Regions from separate parts of the Homo sapiens genome. Here all the other regions are linked to region 4. Evidence: promoter capture Hi-C in 16 types of primary human blood cells and fetal thymus (Javierre and others, 2016). All regions are on one chromosome and are shown on one strand. Each heading gives the region's core, a stretch centred on a gene start or on the middle of the fragment in contact. The rest is flanking DNA. Distances are from core to core; before and after follow the strand shown.

What was found. Contacts are between HindIII fragments. The CHiCAGO score rates a contact against its expected background, and 5 or more counts as called.
Region 1: a fragment that was not itself captured here is called in contact with the fragment with the promoter of LAMB3 in region 4 in 1 of 17 cell types (monocytes); the score reaches 8.4 in monocytes.
Region 2: a contact is called between a fragment that was not itself captured here and the fragment with the promoter of LAMB3 in region 4, in 1 of 17 cell types (monocytes). The highest score is 6.3, in monocytes.
Region 3: a fragment that was not itself captured here is called in contact with the fragment with the promoter of LAMB3 in region 4 in 1 of 17 cell types (activated CD4 T cells); the score reaches 5.2 in activated CD4 T cells.

What each region holds. Positions count from the first base shown.
Region 1 is chr1:209,407,362-209,411,908 of GRCh38, reverse strand. No RefSeq gene overlaps it. Among named protein-coding and RNA genes, the nearest start is that of MIR205HG, 19 kb to the left of the region's middle. The HindIII fragment of the contact is 9,121 bases long and covers 1-4,547 here.
Region 2 is chr1:209,424,585-209,429,561 of GRCh38, reverse strand. MIR205HG (MIR205 host gene) reads right to left here and starts at 742. Exons shown (of 4, transcript NR_145437.1): 1 at 474-742; 2 at 154-381. RefSeq lists an enhancer at 821-1,744. The HindIII fragment of the contact is 1,211 bases long and covers 791-2,001 here.
Region 3 is chr1:209,844,643-209,849,032 of GRCh38, reverse strand. The region is part of intron 11 of UTP25 (UTP25 small subunit processome component); the gene reads right to left. Among named protein-coding and RNA genes, the nearest start is that of UTP25, 19 kb to the right of the region's middle. The HindIII fragment of the contact is 3,063 bases long and covers 960-4,022 here.
Region 4 is chr1:209,651,175-209,655,962 of GRCh38, reverse strand. It overlaps LAMB3 (laminin subunit beta 3), which reads left to right and starts at 3,538. Exons shown (of 23, transcript NM_000228.3): 1 at 3,538-3,594. RefSeq lists an enhancer at 2,837-4,036. The HindIII fragment of the contact is 2,819 bases long and covers 2,911-4,788 here.

The sequences.
Region 1 (4,547 bases), core at 599-3,098, 240 kb after region 4:
GAGGCCACGCATCTTAAAGCCCCACCCATTGCAGTTTGAATTCCTTCCCTTTTTGTCTCCTCACCAGGGCATGACATAACATGTTTTGCTGATGCTAGATCCTAGAACTGTTGGAAAGGGAAAAGAAGCCTGACAGAACTCATTGTTGTAAAATTATTCCTTCCCCATTTCTCACTCTCCTACCAAGAAAAAAAAATAAAGAGGCATCTTCAGTTTCACAACCCTTTTCTGTCTGTCTGGACTTGCTCAGAAAGCCTTGAGAGAGGCCAGATATTTTTGGTGGGAAGTAGGGGGTGGCCTTCCGCTCTGCTAAGAAAACATTTTCTGAGCATGTTGTCTGTAAAGAACCCTGTATTGCATTTGAGTAGTCATGCCCATTTCTGCTGAGGGGAAGCAAGCTGGTCGTCATTCTGGCTCTCCTTGGGTGGTGGTAGTGTCGGTGGTGCCAGTGGCAGTTGTAGGGGTGATGGAAGGGGCTGGTGTGTGTGCTACTAGAGTGGGGACAGGGAGATATTGCAAAGAGGAAGGATAAAAAATAAGCCTCCTTGGAAAGCACAATGTTGATGGACTAAATTATTTGCTCTGAGAGAAGGCAAATACACAGTTCTGCGCAGAAAGATAATTCTCTTGGATTTGGGGAAATTCTTTTGATCTGCAGAAGAATTTCAAGTTACAGTAGAGAATAAGAAACTGGTTAGCCTTTCACTTTTTTAAAACAAAGGAAAAATACATAGCTTTAGCAGCTTGCTTTTCTTTATTGTGATGCTGTAATAAGAATTTGTCAACATTTTAAAATTCATCTAGGCTCTTCATTCAGTTGACTTAAATGATTAATTGTGTACCAGTTTTTCTTAATGTCTAGATTTGTAATTAGTTACTCCTGCTAATTTTGAAAAATTGGATTAAAATGTTGCATGTCTGCTGTAATTGAACAGACCACCTCTATTTCATCTAGAAAATGACTTCCAATAATGTAATACATTATTGACTAAAACTTAACATAAAGTTATTAATGATTGAAAACTTCAAAGCATCTGTCTGCAAACAAGGATAGATCCAGAAATTCAGAGCTGAAGGGGACATTAGAGATCATACCAGTGGGTCTCAGCCAGGGACATTTGGATATGTATATGGTTGTTTGGGATTTTCACAGTGACAGTGACCAAGGGACACAATTGCATTTAATGTCCCAAAATCATGGATGCTAAGCAATCTACGGAATGTGATATAGTTCCACATAGCAGAGAACTTCCCTTTCAAAGTGGCAGTATTGCCTCAGTTAGGAAGATTGAATTCAGTTCTTCATTTGAGATATGAGGATACTGAGCCCTGATATTCCCTGGGTCAATAAAGTGGCAACGAGTGGGGCTGATGTCCATGTCTATCTGTTTCAGGGAAGAGGTCCTGATGCAGACCCCAAAATAGGGTTCTTGGATCTTGTGCAAGAAAGAATTCAGAGCCAGTCCATAGAGTAAAGTGAAAGCAAGTTTATTAGGACAGTAAAGGAATAAAAGAATGGCTACTCCATAGACAGAGCAGTCCCAAGGGCTGCTGGTTGCCCGTTTTTATGGTTATTTCTTGATTATATGCTAAACAAGGGGTGGATTATTCATGCCTCCCTCTTTTAGACCATATAGGGTAACTTCCTGATGTTGCCATGGCATTTGTAAATTGTCATGGCGCTGGTGGGAGTGTAGCAGTGAGGACAACAGAGGTCACACTCATGGCCATCTTAGTTTTGGTGGATTTTAGCTGGCTTCTTTACTGCAACCTGTTTTATCAGCAAGGTCTTTATGACCTGTATCTTGTGTGGACCTCCTGTCTCATCCTATGACTCAGAATGCCTTAACCATCTAGGAATGCAGCCCAGTAGGTCTCAGCCTTATTTTATCCAGCTCTTATTCAAGATGGAGTTGCTCTGGTTCACATACCTCTGACATACCTTTGATGTGATTCAGTTTCTTGGGTTTCCTTAAGCCAATGTTAACAGTAGTTGCACAACTAGAGTAAACAGAACTTCTCCATTATATAGTGGAAGAAGCAACAAAAACCTGGTGTCAGTTTTGGTGCCGGGGTATCTGTCATCTCCTTCGTTTCTACTGTGGATCACAAATCTTCTCTCAACCAAAAAAATGACTTAAATATACAAGAAAAACAATGAAAATGATCAAGAATGGATGGGCCAACTCTTTGAGGAAATTGTCAAGTTAACAAATAAATGAGAGAAGATGAAAGCCCAGTGGAAGTTGAAGTTCAATCTCTTTCAAGAATAGGGAAGCCAGGCGTGGTGGCTTACTCCTGTAATCCCAGCACTTTGGGAGGTGAGGCGGGCAAATCACCTGAGGTCAGGAGTTCAAGACCAGCCTGGCCAACATGATGAAACCCTGTCTCTACTAAAAATACAAAAATTAGCCAGGGGTTGTGGCACATGCCTGTAATCCCAGCTACTTGGGAGGCTGAAGCAGGAGAATTGCTTGAGCCCAGGAGGCGGAGGTTGCAGGGAGCCGAGATTGGGCGACTGCACGCCAGCCTGGGTGACAGAGTGAGACTCCGTCTCAAAAAAAAAGAAGAAGAAGAATAGGGAAGTCAAATTAGAGAGGTTAGAATCTATAAGTTAAGGGTGGGTGGAGAGATATTATTATGTAGTCATTTTGAATCAGATCACAGTCTTCATGTCCAGGTGGCTGGATCTCATATAATAAAGACATTTTTAGATGAAATCTCAAAACTCTTGTTTTCCACATCACAAAGATGAAAAATTTCCCAGAATACTAGAAATAGAAAAATATTCTTCTAATTTTCAAAAAGAGGGAAAAAGGAGTTTTGGAAGCCACCTCTAACAAAACTTGGCCTTGGATCTGATAGAATTCTTCAACAGTATATTAAACTCATGCTTTATGCATGCTTAGAAAAGAATGAGGTGATCTCTAGCAACCAGTACGGATACTGCTACCATAAACTGACCCATTATGAACTGACTACACTGGCAAATCTGTGAAGGTCCATAAACCTAGAATATCTCTATTTCCATAACATGTTTGACATGGTGTTCTATGATATCCTAGTGGATAAGACTACGATAGCTGAATTAGGCACTGTTGAAGTTAAGTGCATTTCCAGTTGGTTGAATTTAGGTATTTAAAGAGTGTTGATAATCTGGAAGGAGAGGCTGGTAAGGTTTACTTTTGCTATAACTATGTGATCTTTAATATATAAATCAATAATTTGAAGGAACACAGTAACAAATAGATTTCCAATTTTTTGTATGACATAGAGTGATGGAGAAAACATTAAAAGTAATCTCTATACACTAGAAGTCTGGATCAGATTCAAGAAGATGAGACTTAACACATATAAATGTTAATCTACTGCACCAATGCTCAAAAAAATCAACTGTGCAATGACAGAATAGGGAAAGCTAGTTTTGCAGATGCTAATATTGAAAAGGCAAGGGCTTTTTACGTAAAGGACTCTTTATTGGACCATAACCAAAAGATGAAACAATAGTGACATGTGGTTTTCCTAAAAGCAAATATGATCTAAGATGTGTCCAGAGAATCATGTTAGGTTGGTGAAGGGCTTGGAAAATATGTTACATGAGGAATGATTGAACGACTAAAAGAACTTGTCGTATCTGGGCTATAAAAGAGATGACTAAAATGTCAAGGTTGTCTTCCAATATTTGAGGTTTCCTGTAAGGAAAATGGAGAGGGTTTGCCTTGCAAGAAGTTAAGGTAGTAGAATGAAGACCAACCGGCAGAAGTTACAAGGAGGCAAATTTTAATTGAGTATAAGGAAAAACTAACTAGCAGTCAAGAAGAAATGGGCTTACATGCCTATTTATAGCAGCATTATTCACAATAGCCAAAAGGTCATAGCAACCCAACCATCCATCCACAAATGAGTGGATGAGCAAAATGTGTTACATACATGCAATGAAATATTATTAGGCCTTCAAAAGGAAGGAAATTCTGACACATACTACAATGCAGATGAACCTTGAAAATATTGTGCTAAGTAAAATAAGCCAGTCACAAAAGGACAAGTATCATAATGATTCCACTTACATGCGTGCTAGAGTAGTCAAATTCATAGAGACAGAAAGGAGAATGGTGGTTGCCAGGGACTTGGGGAGAGGACAATGGGAAGCTGTTATTTAATGGGTATAGAGTTTCAGGTTGGGAAGATGAAAAGCTCTAGAGATGGATGGTAGCACAGTAATGTGAACGAACTTACTGCCACTGAACTGTACACTTAAAAATGGCTAAAATGGTAAATTTTATATATATTTTACCACAGTTGAAAAACAAATTGGGGGCTCCATTGCCTATGGAATAAACCAAACAAAGAAGAAGGAATGGGCTTATGTGCGAGGTATTGAGTTTCCTGTAACTGTAAGTATCAAAATCGGGACTGGACAGTCTCAGGGTGACATGCTCTAGGGAACATTTCAGGGTGAGAAGCAATCCCAATGATTTCAGAACGTCTGTAACTCCACATGAAAACAGAGGCTTACTCTGTGCCTCAGATTGAGTAAGGCTGCATAC
Region 2 (4,977 bases), core at 147-2,646, 220 kb after region 4:
AATAAGAATTTTTTTTTTTTGTCATAAGATAATGCAGAACAGAGAGATGGCTACAGCCATGCAGATGAGAAGAAGAAAAGAAATTTCAAATCTTGGATGTTTCTTTTGCCCCTAAGGCTTGAGGACAGGGAACAAAAAATGAGAAACACTTACCCTATATAAAGCACCCAGTTCAGCAGGCCTGTGCGGAACAGAAATGACTCCTGAGGAAAGGTGGGGGCCGGTCCTGAATAGTTGATTTCTCTCTTTAATGAAAAAGAACATGAGGCCGGATGCGGTGGCTCACGCCTGTGATCCCAACACTTTGGGAGGCCGAGGCAGGTGGATTGCTTAAGCTCAGGAGTTCAAGACCAGTCTGGGCAACATGGTGAAACCCCGCCTCTACAAAAAAATACAAAAAATTAGTCAGGCGTGGTGGTGTGCGCTTGTAGTCCCAGCTACTTGAGGGGCTGAGGCAGGAGAATCGCTTGAACCTGGGAGGTTGAGGCTGCAGTGAGCCCAAGATTGAGCCACTGCACTCCTGCCCGGGCGACAAAGTGAGACCCTGTCAGAAAAAAAAAAAAAGTAAGCAGAGGAAAGTGGAATTGAAGGAGAGGGAGTAAAGGTAGCTGGAAAAGAGAGAGTTTGGAGTATGGTTGAGAATTGAGCTGAATTTTTAGAATAGAGATTAGTAACAGACAATAAAAGAGAAACTGGTTTTTCCAAGTCAAGGGTGAGCAAGAGGGACTCAGCCCATTTCAAGGAGGTGGTACTAGTTTCACTCTTTATTTATGCACCTCTCAGCAAAGCTTCAGGTTACCTGCTGAACTCAACCAATGGAGAAAGGGCCTGGCAGCTGGTCCCACCTCTCAGAACCCACACCCCTGGGGGACCATGAATGGAGAGGTCTTTCTGCAGGCTACCCGTACTTTCTCATTGTTGTGTGAACACCAGAAAAGGGAAGTGAGGTCTTTGTCATCCCAGAGTTGGAGAGACACTGCAGGTTATCTGAGCCTTGCACCTGAAGCCTTAGTCCTCCCAGAGACCTACCTAATCGGGGAGAGGGGAATGCTAAGATTTTATCTTGTCCTAAGGAAGCTGAGTGTTTGTGTGTGTGTGTGTGTGTGTGCGCGCGTGTGTGTGCGCGCTTGCTTGCTTGAGCTTTTAGCCTGACCTGAGTTGCTGTCTCTACACAATGCACTTCGGGAATCCAGCAGAGATAGGCCAGTCCATCCAGGCAGAGCTGTAGAAAGAGGCCGGAGGGTCACAGTCGAGGCCCAGCCAGAGGCTTATCCTGGCATTTAGTACAGAGTAAGTCTGCTGCTCCCCTTGTGAGAAGCAAGTGTTTCTTTTATAATCCGAAAGGCTTTGTGACCTGCTTCCCTTTCATGTCTGGGGGTGGGGAAAAGACCACACTGCGAGGGGAAATTAAGGAAAGAGAAGGCAAGCTCATTAGTAACTTTAAAGAGGGCGGTCTATAAACTTGATTATTTTACCCCACCCCCGCTTCCATGCGCAACTTGGGCTCCGCCTCCTGCCCCTCCCCTATCTCTCGGCCCATCTTGCCAGCTTCCCCCTCCCTCGTTCCCCCTTCCAAGTGCACACCTGGAGGGCAAGGGAAGTTGAAGTCTCCTCAAATGTGCCACATTTCACCCAGGATCCTGGCCTGCTTTCCATTTGTTCTCCAGGTAAATCTAGTGTGCAGCGAAGGCAGATTCCTCTATTCTCCAGCGGAAGGGAGGGAACTGAAGAATCCAATCTATAGGACCTCTTAGTGCAGTCCTGTCCCACAGCCCTTCATGGAACTGAATCATGCCTGCCCAAAATCTCCCTAGAAATCAGCTAATCTAAACTTCTTACCGCATAGACTGGGGAACAGAAGTTTTGAAAGGTGAATTTCTGTCTTGCACAGCCAGTGCAGAGTCAAGATTCTAATCTACCTGGATCTCCCAAACCCCATTTAAAAGCCCTTTAAAACAAACCCTACACGTTGTTTTCCCCGGTTCTGGCGGACCTGAAGCTTGTCTGAACTATTCTGGATTCTTCCTGGGAGAAGAAAAGCCTCCACTGGTGAAGAAGAAAAACCAATACAGACCAATAGGAGGAGGGCAGGGAGATCTTCCACGTGATAGCTTCCTTAAGCACCGGACTCCTCCCCTAAACCGTGGAGCTCATGGCTTCCCTGCTGACTGGACCCAGTTTGCCTACACTGAGCCTCAGCTCTCCCATTTCCCAAAAAGTAATGCAGGCAGAGAAGCGAATTGTTCCTGGCCACAGTGATACACCCACATTGTGTGCTGAAGACTCTGGGCCCCCTTCTGACCTTTCCCTGCTCCCTCTCTCCCTCTTCCTTCCAGAATAGCATTCATTCATTCATTCACTTACTCACTCTCCCCATCACGTATCATTCCATGAGCATCGACTCTGTGCCAGGTGAGTGAGAGGCTGCGTTTACCCCCTAGGAGCTCCCAGCCTAGATGGACATCTACAAGAAGAGGCAAAAACATAGGCCAATGAGGAAAAACATGATGAATATCCCCCACAAAGGGAACTGCCGCATTTGTCTGTGAGATTCAGGGAAGGCTCTACAGACAGAGTGACATATTGGAACTGAATCTGAAAAAATGATGGCGGGCTGAGTGTGATGAAGACCTGCGAAAATTCAGGCCTTGAGGGAGGAGCTCTCACATGTTCAGAGCAGCCTGGGGTGCCGGGGACTGGAGAGCGCAGCCATCTTGTGATGGGCCTGTGGATTTCATTCACAGGTCAGGAAGCTCCGGAAGTCTCGAGACAGGGAATGAATGGACCAGAACTGTTTTTCAGAAGCCAGTTAGGACTGGAGGCAGAGCAACTGACTGCTGAGGAATATGACTGCCCCCAAAATATAGGGGAGAGGAGGGTAAGGAGGAGTGCCTAGGGCAGACGATATCAATAGTCCTGCTGGTCATATTCTGTCCCCTTGAGGGTTCATCTTTGACCTCTAAATTTGTTCAGAAAAATGGGATAAACCTATAGATTTATTGATTCTATATCCATCCAATACAGTAAAGAAAGACGACCTGCCCAAAATTATTATTATATTTTCTTCCCTTCAACTTCAGTCACCACAGCCCAGGAGGATGCTCTGTGGACTGACTGGACACTGGTTGGTGTGGAAGGTCTAGAGGGTGGGGGAAGCATATCTGGGTGGCTCTGCTGGAAGTTTCTTCTTCCAGCCCCTCAGCCTGGCTCTTTGTTCCAGAGTCAGCTTGTGAGGCAAAAGCCTTGATGTCCCTCTTCCCCTAGGTTTCTAGTTCCGTGTCTCTGAGAGGCATTCCGCAGAGTCATCCAGGGTGGTGCTGTGCTTGCCTGAGTGTGTCTGGGGTACAGGAGATGGAGATGGGGAGTGGAACAGCGTAGTGTGGTTGGAAGGGGAGGATACAGGGCTTCCTTCCGTCTCCACTGAAGAGTAGCCATGGTAACCGTGGTTTACTCACTTTGGCTGATCTTGGGCCTCACCTTTTGTTTTCATGCACTGTATGCCCCCTTGATCCTCATTTCTCCTCCCCCTCAACTACCCCAGCCAGAGTTCCTCTACTGTTAGAAGTTCTTGGTCCTCACATGCATTTCTGGCTCCTGAAAAGACTCTGCCATTCTCTCTGCTCAAATTTCCAGCCCCAAAACTAACTGCCACATCTTCAGTTTTTGAAGAAAAAGATAAAAGACCTGAAATTCTCCAAAGTGTTTTAACACGTGGTTAGCATTAGAGTTAGGTATGGGTCTCTCTGACTAAATTCTGCTTATAAGCTCATCTAACTTTGCAGCTTCCCCTCCATGCCTAGCACTGTGCCTGAGGTCTTCAATAAAGGTCTGTTGAATCAACCGCGGTTATTTCTATAGGGGAAGAACACCAAAAGATAAGCTACCTAGGTTCCACTGCACAACATTTGGAGTGGACTGGACTCTTGGGGGTGAAACAGTAAGGACAGTGTGTTGTAGGGAAGCAGTGTGTTCCCAGGAAGCTGCTGGGGACATCAGGGTCCATGACCATAATGGGGATGGCCCTTGGGGTGCCTGTAGACTGGAACTTCATCACCAGCCTTCTCCTGATCCAGGTTTACAGCTTTGTTACATGTATTGAGGAGCTGGGAGGACCTCTCCCTGAGACATTTCTTGGTTAGGATCCAGAACTGGGAAGTATGCATGCTACTCTTTCAGCCACTGGTCAGGGTCTACACAAATGTAGAGTGGGGGAAGATGTGATTTGACAGCACTTATAAATAGAAAAAAAAAACGGCCGGGTGTGGTGGTTCACTCCTGTAATCCCAGCACTTTGGGAGGTCCAGGTGGGTGGATCAAGAGGTCAGGAGTTCAACACCAGTCTGACCAAGATGGTGAAACCCCGTCTCTACTTAAAATACAAAAAATTAGCCGGGTGTGGTGGCGGGTGCCTGTAATCCCAGCTATTCAGAAGGCTGATGCAGAGAATTGCTTGAACCCGGGAGGCAGAGGTTGCAGTGAGCTGAGATTGCACCACTGTACTCCAGCCTGGGTGACAGAGCAAGACCCCACCTCAAAAAGAAGAAAAAAACCTTAGGATGTGAGCTGATGGTAAGTTTCGTGGGACTCAGTGGTGTGATATGGCTACCAAAAGAGCACATTCTTTCTTTGATTGCATCATTAGAAATATGAAACAGAAAATAAAGGAGATGGGAGATAATAGTTTTACTCTACTCTTCACTGATCATATTATACCTGGTTATTACATTGATTTGTGGGCTCCACATTTTAAGAGGGGTCAATACAAACCTGAAGGAGAAAAAAAAAAGTGAGCACAGAGGACACAGGCAGGCAACAACAACAGCAGAAACTGTGATGATTCTGGAGTCAATACAGTCTGAAAGAGGCAAAATCTCCACCCAAGGAGTAAGTGGAAGGACCAGGCAGCTTATCACCTCCTACTCCCAGACCTTGCACACACCCAGGTAGTGCAGAACACCAATCTGAACAAGTGGGGCC
Region 3 (4,390 bases), core at 1,242-3,741, 190 kb before region 4:
TGACAGCTGAGCAATCAGGACACTGAGAAAAACCCTCCAGCACCCGAGACCCTACACCAAGCCCACTGTCTGCTGGAGGAATTTGAGGTCTGTGGTGTTGGGAAGGTATCTACAGTAACAATCAAATCCTGACTAGATTGATAGCACCCACACCAGTGGCCTACGGAAGGGGTGCGGCCGGACATAAGTATTATTTACTTCAGCCTCTACATTCCATTGAAAGTTATAGAAGACACAAAAAAGCAAGAAAAGACATCCAAACAATGAGGTATCATTTTGACTATCACATCAGTAGCAATAATTCAGTCTATGGAGCTTTGGAGAAATAGGTGAATGGAGCATAAATTACTTTGTCTATGAATTCAGGAGAAGATATGGAAAAGATGCAAAGGAGCAAATAAGTGGCAACGCATGACACATTTTTAACTGTGTACAGCCTCTGTGCTAACGAGTTTTCCTTTCAAAATCTATCCCAAGAAAATAACTAGGTAAGTATTTCATCAAAACATATGCATATGGATGTTTTGCGTATTATTATATACAACAGCAGAAAACAGAAAAAAAACCCCTATATGCCCACTAAAAGGAAGCTAGCTTAATTAACCAATGTAATACTATGTAGCCATTAAAAACAATGTGATGTTTACCTCACACGTTACTTATTAATTACATACACACACTAAGTGATTTTAGTGATTTGGCATCACCAAGAATGAGACAAAGTGACATTACGTGCCTTCTGATGAGATGAGGTAGAAAGTACGTAATATTCCCTAAGTAGAATTCTTATCAAAAGATATTTATTCTAAATCAGTCATCCCCAAACTGCTGCACATTGAAATCACCTAGCTGGTTGTTTTTTTATTTTTTTTATTAATACTTAGGTTTGGTCCCCATCCCAGACACTGCGATTTAATTGGTACTGGGATGTGACCTGGGCATTTGGATTTTTAAAAGCTTCTATTCTAACGTACGGCAAAGTTTGAGAACCACTGATCTAAATAACAAGGGAACAATTAGATAAATCCAGACTGTGAGACATACTGCAGGAAACCAGATTGGACTCTTCAAAAAGATGTCGATGTCATGAAAAAGTAAAAAAGCAAGAGAGTTATTCTGGATGAGGGTTTCTCAGTGTTAACACTGCTGACATTTTGAGACAGATAATTCTTTGTGGTTGGGGGCTGTCCTGTGAACGAAGGTGTTTCACAGCATCACTGGTCTCAACCCACTGGAACCACCAGAATAATCCTCCAGTTGTGATAACCAAAAATGTCTCCAGATATTGCCAAATGTCCCTGAGGGAGCAAAATTGTTCCCCAATTGAGAACTAAACTAGATTAAAGAAACAAAAGCAGTAAGTTAACCAAATGCTATATATGATCCTTACTGAATCCTTTTTGGCCGGAGGGGAAAGAGCTATAATGGTCATTTTGGTGACAACTAGCAAAATCTGAATATAGACTAGATATCAGATGATATTACTGTAGTAACATCAGGTAGCATGATAATGGTGCTATGGTTAGATAAAAGAATGTTTTTGTTTTTAGGAGCTACATGCTAAAATATTTAGGGGTGAAGTGTCAATGAAGACTCACGCTACTTTACTTTCAAATGGTTCAGGAAGAAAAAATAAGAGATGTGAGTGGGGATAGAGAGAAGATGGGTATGTGCAAATGTGATAAAATGAGAACAGCTGGTGGAATTTGGGGTAAAAGCATTTATAAATAAACAGATGTTTATTGTTAGTCTCTTAACAATTTTCTTTCACAATGAAATCTTTTCAAATAAAAACCTGGGGGAAGAGAGGATGTCGTAGAGCTATATATAGTAACTTAAAAATATACACAAAAATCCACAATATACAAATATACAGGCCAAAATGTTAGTCTTTGAATTTTTTTAAATGAGCACATAAAACATCTAAGACAAAGGAAAAAAAAATCCTTAAAACAAAAAAAGATCCTAATTTTAGTATTGTTTTTTAAAAAAACACGTGTGTGTGTGCACGTGTGCATGTGCACACATTTTTCACATAAAAAAGATGGAAAAAAATTACCAAAAAGAGTATTTATATCAGGGCAGTGAGATTTTTAACCTAAAATTTCCAATATCTCTACAATAACTGTGAAATACCCTCACAATCAGGAAAAACAAAACAATAAAACTGTTAAGTGTTATATTAAACACACACACATGAAAATCTGTCTCAGTCCCAATGCAACCACAATAGAGACTGAGTATCTCCTGGCAACAGAGAACATGGCCAGGGCCTCTTCCAAGGGGCAGTTAGTGGCAAGTCTCCATAGCTTGAGCACCCCTTACCCTGCCTTCCTCCTCCCTTATATATGCTTTGTTTTCAGTGACTCCTACAAACACAGCCTAATCACCCTTACAGTACCTTCCACATGTCTATTTCACGAGCCACTGTTAAAGACAAATGAGGCAACCACAATGAACTTGAAAGACTGGCTCCTTCCTACGGTCCATAAAGACCAAGTCTACTACTTCTAGAACTGGGATTCTCCTGTAGGGGAAGGGAGTAATCAGAAATTCCCAGCAGCCTTTCCAAACTCCACAAATCCCACCTCCAGTTTCTGACTTGCCTCCTGGTTGAGATCCTCCCTGCTGTGGAAACCCACTGATAACGCACTGGAAAAGAGCTGTGACCCATCACTGGGAGGGCAATCATGACCAAATGTTCATCCAATTCTAAGATTCTGCTAGTTTAATCTTCCCCACATAAAACAAATCTTCAGGTTAAAAAATTTTTGCTAACTCAAAAATGAATTCTAATCTTCCTAACATTGCCAGCTGTCATAGAGAATATAAAAACAGAGTCAGATACTACAATATAAAATACATGTACATTTTCTGGCCGGGCACGGTGGCTCATGCCTGTAACCCCAACACTTCTTGGGAGGCTGAAGTGCGCAGATCACATGAGGCCAGGAGTTCAAGACCAGCCTGGCCAACATGGCAAAACCTCGTCTACTAAAAATACAAAAATCAGCCAGGCGTGGTGATGCAATTCTGTAATCCCAGCTACTCAGGAGGCTGAGTCACGAGAATTGCTTGAACCCAAGAGGCAGACGCTGCAGCGGGCCGAGATCACACCACTGCACTCCAGCCTGAGCAACAAAGTGAGACTGTCTTAAAAAAAAAAAAAGAAAAAGAAAAAGAAAAAAAAAGTACTTATTCTAAGGTCAAATTAAAAAAAAAAAAATCACAAAGGCACTGCACACCAAAACATCCATCATCACCTTGGTGATCTCTCGAGCAAAAAATTCTATAGCTGGAAACCTTGAGATAATTAGCTGTTGCAGAACTCTAAAGCACATTATTTTCATTCATCTTCTACAAAAGAAACACCAATTAACCTGGCCCAGGGCATAAAGCAAATGGCATATGCTGAGATTTGTCCTTATCGTGACTTTGAGGGCAACATGGCTTGGTAAATAGACAGTGTAATACAGGAGACTGTCCTGCTTACAAAGGGCTCCATGCCCTGTCCTTGAAAAGCTGCTGAGATATTAAAGAGCTTAATTCCCATCCCAGCTTAATTCACAGTTGCCATAGACAATCACACTGGGAAGTTTTCCAATCCATCCACTTCACTTAAAGGGCTTGCTTTCATTTGTCAAGATGATAGAAAGCTAAGAGCTTTTAAGACCTGATGAGTGCAACTTCCCCAAATACTTTCCAACATGAATGGAAACGACAACTTACTGGAACAGAGCAAATAATGAGGGCAACAAGCAGGCATTCATTAACACTCTTTGGCCAAGCAGCCTTCTCTGGGTAGCCAAGAATGGAGCCTGGGAAACACAAATTTAATCAATCCTCAACTCTCTAAGAGGTCATGCCATGCCAGCTTTGCTATGCCTAGGCAAGCTGCTGGGACGCCTCCCTCCCCATCCTGGGAACAAGGACGTTATCTGGGGAGCACCATCCTAATCGTTTTAGCATAAACTAAAAGGTAATGCAATGCCAAAGTGCATCATCTAATGTGCTCCAAAGCTTGGGAGATTTCTGGCGTATCTGTTTAGGATTCTCTGAGAAAATGCACCCATTGTGAGTTAATAAAACAGTAAAGTCAGAACTTAAATCCACTGGACATTATTGTGAAATCAGGATGAGGTAACAGAATGTAATTTACATAACTCTACAGGCAAGGGTTAAAAAAAGCCTTTTACATATTATGCAACCATGAAAATTGAAAATAAAAATCTAAAAAATAAAAAAGCTTTTTCTATTTATCAACAGAGAGAGACTTAGCAAAACAATAAAATACATGAGCTCTAGGGCCAGAAGGGCCGCCACTATCCCAAACAGTAATAGAAGGCTCAGTATTACTAACCCTCTAATTAGAGTTGGTTTTTTTTTTTTT
Region 4 (4,788 bases), core at 2,289-4,788:
ATTCACTGTATTCAGGTGTGGCCTGAGCTTGAGTCACCTGGTGCCCCTTCCTCCAACACCTGAGAGTCACAGCCTGGACCAGGTTCTCCTATGCCCCCTGAACCTCTTCTCTCTCCTTTTCTTCCTCCTTTTCTCCTTCCTTTGTTCCCTATCCCTTGATCTCTGATTGATCAGATCTTGGCTGATCTCCCTAGCGACTTGGACGGTTTGAGCCTGACAGATGGATAATAGACACAGTAGCTTATAATGCCACCCCCACACCCTGTCAGAGACATTGCCAGGAATGACTGAGAAGCAGGCAAAGAAGGAGACTGCCTCTGTCAATATGGTGACATTTCTGTAATTGGAGATAGGTGCCTCAAAAAAGACCTCCGCACTCTGGCTGATACAGGAATTTCCACTATTAGTAATCCATCCCAGTGCCCAAAGCCTGGATTGTCCCCTCTGAGAATGCAACTACACATCAACGGCACAGGGGATGCATTGAACTGTATCAATTGTTTGTACTTTAGTGTGGATCCATTCATTCCACAAGTATTGAGCACCTACTATGTGCCAGGCACTTGGAAAACAGTAGTGAATAAGATAGAAATCTCTGCCTTCTTGGATATTACATTCTAGTTGGGAAGAGACAGAAAATAAACATAAGCAGATAAATTATATAGTTGGTTAGAAGCTGGTACATGATGCCCCCCTACCAAATAAGTAAATAAATAACTCACCAAAATATAGGGTAGGTGGGGTTAGGAGTGTTAGGATGGGGGACAGGGATGGGGCAGGGAAGTTGGCTGTAATTTTAATAGTGTGTTTAGGATAGGCCTCATTGAGAAGTTAGGATCTGAACAAAGACTTTGAAAGAGGTCAGAGAGTTAGCTTTGTAGATATCCAGGGGCAAGACCGTTCCAGGCAGCAGAAGCAGCTGGAGCCAAAGCCCTAAGCCTGAGCTAAGACAGGGATAGAGGCCATTGTAGTAGAGGTGAAGAGTAATGGGAGGAAGGTGGTGTAGGGTCCCCTAGACTCTGAAAAAGCTCTGGCCTTGGCCCTGAGTGGGATAGGGGCATGTGAAGATTCTGAGCTCGGGGTGCATAACCTGCTGTGTTGGGACTTGACTGTATATCAGTGAGGAGGCTGTTGCAGACGTCCCAGGAAAAGAGGCTCAGGCCAGGAGGGAAGAAGTAGATTCTGATTATTATTGGAAGGCAGAGCTGACCGAATTTGCTGATGGAGTGATGAGGTTTGAAAGATACTGAAGTCTGGGATGACTTCACTAGCCACTTTCCTGAGCACACATTCTAATAAGTCAAGGCTCTAGGGCAGATAAGTGCTCTGTTGTAGGAGGATGGGCGCAGGGAGAGAGGAAAGGTGTGCACACAGGGGAGGCTGAGGGGCTCCAGCCACAGTACCACACCCCTTTAATCTTAGCTGGACCCTGATCTGGCCTCAGGCTCTATTTTAGGCTACTTGACTGAACAAATTGGGTTCTGAAGCTCCAGAGCTTGTGCCTGGAGCCCTGGAGTTCTTGGGGGACTGGATCCCCACTTGGAAATGATCAGTGTCCCTCAGGAGTGAGGCTGGCTGGGCTGCTCTTGGGGGTCTGCATAAACAGCTTCCTGGACTTTGCCGGGAGTGTAGGGGAGAGCCAAGCACAGCAATTGGCATGTCCCTCCTGCGAAGCCAAACCACTCCAGGACCTGCCCAAGCCTGTGAAGTCTGAGACACCGAATGTGTATTTACCTGGGCTCATGGCCTCAGATAAAGGGAGGAGGAGGAGGATTTAAGGGGCCCCAGCTACTCATGGTGAGGCCCACCGCACACCTGCCCTGCCTTTTCTCCTCTGAGGATCTGGGATTGCAACACCTGCTCTCTTCTGCTGAGTTAATTATTAATGAGTTCTTTGTCACATCCTCTGGTGATGGGCAGAGGGCGAAAGTTTCATGAGCGCTCTGAGTTCAGGGAGTTGGGGAAGTGGAGAGAAAGAGACCACCAGGTGGGAGAACTGAAAACACAGGTGTGTCAGAGTCAGAGCTGACCTTTCTCGGTGGGGGACTTGAGGGAGGTCTCTCTGTGTTGAAGGGACACTGCTTCTACTGACCTTACTTGCTGAGTTGAGCTAGATTTCACTGGAATGCTTACAGGGGGCAAGACTCTAACATTTATTGGACTATCAATTATGCATCAACTTACATCAACAACTCACTGCCCACTTGCTAATTACACTATTTCTTCTGCCTACCTGAACTTATGCTTAATTCGAATCTGAGGGTTAGAAATGCCCAATTTAATCCACAAAATTCTACATTTCCCCCTTAAGGGTCTTCAAGCCAATTTCTTGGACATAACCCTCCAATGGTGGAGAACTTTCTGTTTAGGAGACACTAACAAAGTGGAATCGTAGTTAAGAAGCTCCTTTAAATAGTAGCTTTGAGGTCCTAGCATTCCAAAACGGTGCCAGTGCAGGCTCTCCAGGGCCAAGATATGGACTGGCTGACCCTCCAGGTTTCCCTAAAAGCTCTCTGACCCTAACCTGGGGGAAAGAGTGTCCTGTGAGACCAGCCTCTCAATTTGGACCTGCCACTTCCATTTACAGTGGCTGGAAGCCCAGGATCCCTGAGCAAGGAGCCCACAAAAGAAGCTGTGTTCTCAGGCCTGGCAGGAGGCCAGGGAAAGTCTGTTTTGACTTTGTCAGTCAAGCTATGCTTCAGCCTTTCCTTCCACCACTTGTGGTCAGGTCTGTTTTCTGGCCCTCCAGGCGGGCATTCCTGCCTAGGGAGGGAGGGGCTAGGAGACTAACCCTCCCCACAGGTGGGAGGAGTGACTCACAGGCAGCTACCTGTCCCAGGGCTCCCTGCCAACCCTGTGGAGGGAGCTGGAGGCGAGCCATTTAGTTACTCTGCTCATTTCTCTTAAGCTTTCCTTGGATGAGTTGAGCTTTGAATCCTTCCTGATGAACCTTGCCTTTTAAGGATCCTCCAAATGCCCCAAGAAGCTGGGATTTTTCATTTTTTTTTTCACTGGGGAGGGGAATGGTGCTTTCCAGGGTCCTGGATGTTTGAGTCTTCTCACCTTCCAGCCCGGTGATATGTCTGGAGCTTTAACTCTCTATATAAGCCCTAATCTTTGTGTTCTCTGCCTGATCTTCTGTCTGGGGTGGTCCAGGTCACAAGAAGAAGCTGACCCCTGCTGGCTTTGGGAAAATGCTGAGTTCATTGCCTGGCACAAATGCAAGGGCCCTTCCCCACCCTGTGAATTCTGGTCTCTGATGATCACTTACATGTGCCTTGTGCTTTCTGTTTGAGGGGCCCCTTGCAGCCCCCACAGGCAGGTGGGCATTGTGGAGCTCACTACAAGAACTCTGGGACGGACCGACCAACCCACTTGCCCAGTCCCGTCCTGGGAGGTGGGGGTGCAGTGACGACAGATGGGTGTGACGGCTGCCAGATTCCTGAGACCCGCCCTGCGGTGGGGCTACACCCAGCCAGGGAGTCTCCAGAGGTGAGGCTGTTGTTTAAAAACCTGGAGCCGGGAGGGGAGACCCCCACATTCAAGAGGAGCTTTCAGGCGATCTGGAGAAAGAACGGCAGAACACACAGCAAGGTATGTTACCTGTCTTTACCTGCCTGGTGCGGGCCGGATGCGGGAGGAGGACTGTATCTCTGGATGCCTGGGGCCTGGTTTCAGGGCCTGATTTATTCCTCTTCCTGGGAGCTCACTCAGGTGAGCTAGGTTAAAATGTCTGCTACAGTTTTGATTTCTTTTTCACATTTGATAAGCACCTCAGTGGCTTAGAAGAAAGCAGGTTCAGATCCGGGGTTGAGCACAAAAGAGAAGTGAGAAGGGTGGGCTGGCCTGGCTCAGAATGCCTACTTGCAGGGGGATTTTCAGTCAGGGGTGGGAAAGCTGAGAAAGCACTGGATGAAAGTCAGAAGATGGGTCTCTCTTAGGCCATCGTTAGCTGTGGGACCCCAGGCCACATGTTCCCTCCCTGGGCCCATGACTCTTTTAGGAGAGGGATTGGAAGGAATGATTTTGAAGCATTAGGATCTATAATTTAAAGATGCCAGAAATGTCCTCAATTTCCCCCCCCGCCCCTGCCTTGCCAAGCCCCCAGCCCTCCACCCCAGCCAAAAGAGTTTGTGGCTGTCATTGGAACAGAGTGAACATCCAATTCAAGGCAGAAGGGTCACTGCATGAGCAAGGGTGGGGCATGTTTCCACAAGGCAGGCCTGCCTCTGGGACCCCACGGTGGCTTTCGAGCATCCTTCCCCAGCCTCCTTCAGAATCCCTGCTTTGTGGCCTCCCAGCCCCACCCCTCTTGTCGAGCCCCAGCCCATCATTGAAGACATTTTGGGTTGCTTCCCTTTCAGAAGAAACCCTCACTCACTTGTTAAAGACAGCCATACATCTCTCCCTGTTGCATCCCAGAATTGTGGGCACAGAGCCTCAAACTCAAAGTGGCCCTGAATGGTATTGGAGGCCATGCCCGTGACAGGAGAAGGTTTGCCTCCAGGCCGTCAGCCACTCTGACTCATTCACTTTGGGCGGGGCTGGGTTGAGGCTGCTGGTCTAGGCCCTGAGAAAAGCCAGCCCTCTCTCTTGGGGCTGGAACTAGGTCTTGGCCCTTTCTACAGCTTTTCTCCTGCAAAGGGTCCAGCCTTTTCCTGCTCCCCACGTTGTCCTTACGGCTGTGTGGGGTAGGGCAGGGTCCACACTCCTTCCCATCCATTTTAGAGGAGGAAGCTGGAGTCTGGGAAGGGATGGGATTTTCCCAGGGCACCCTGTGAGTCACAT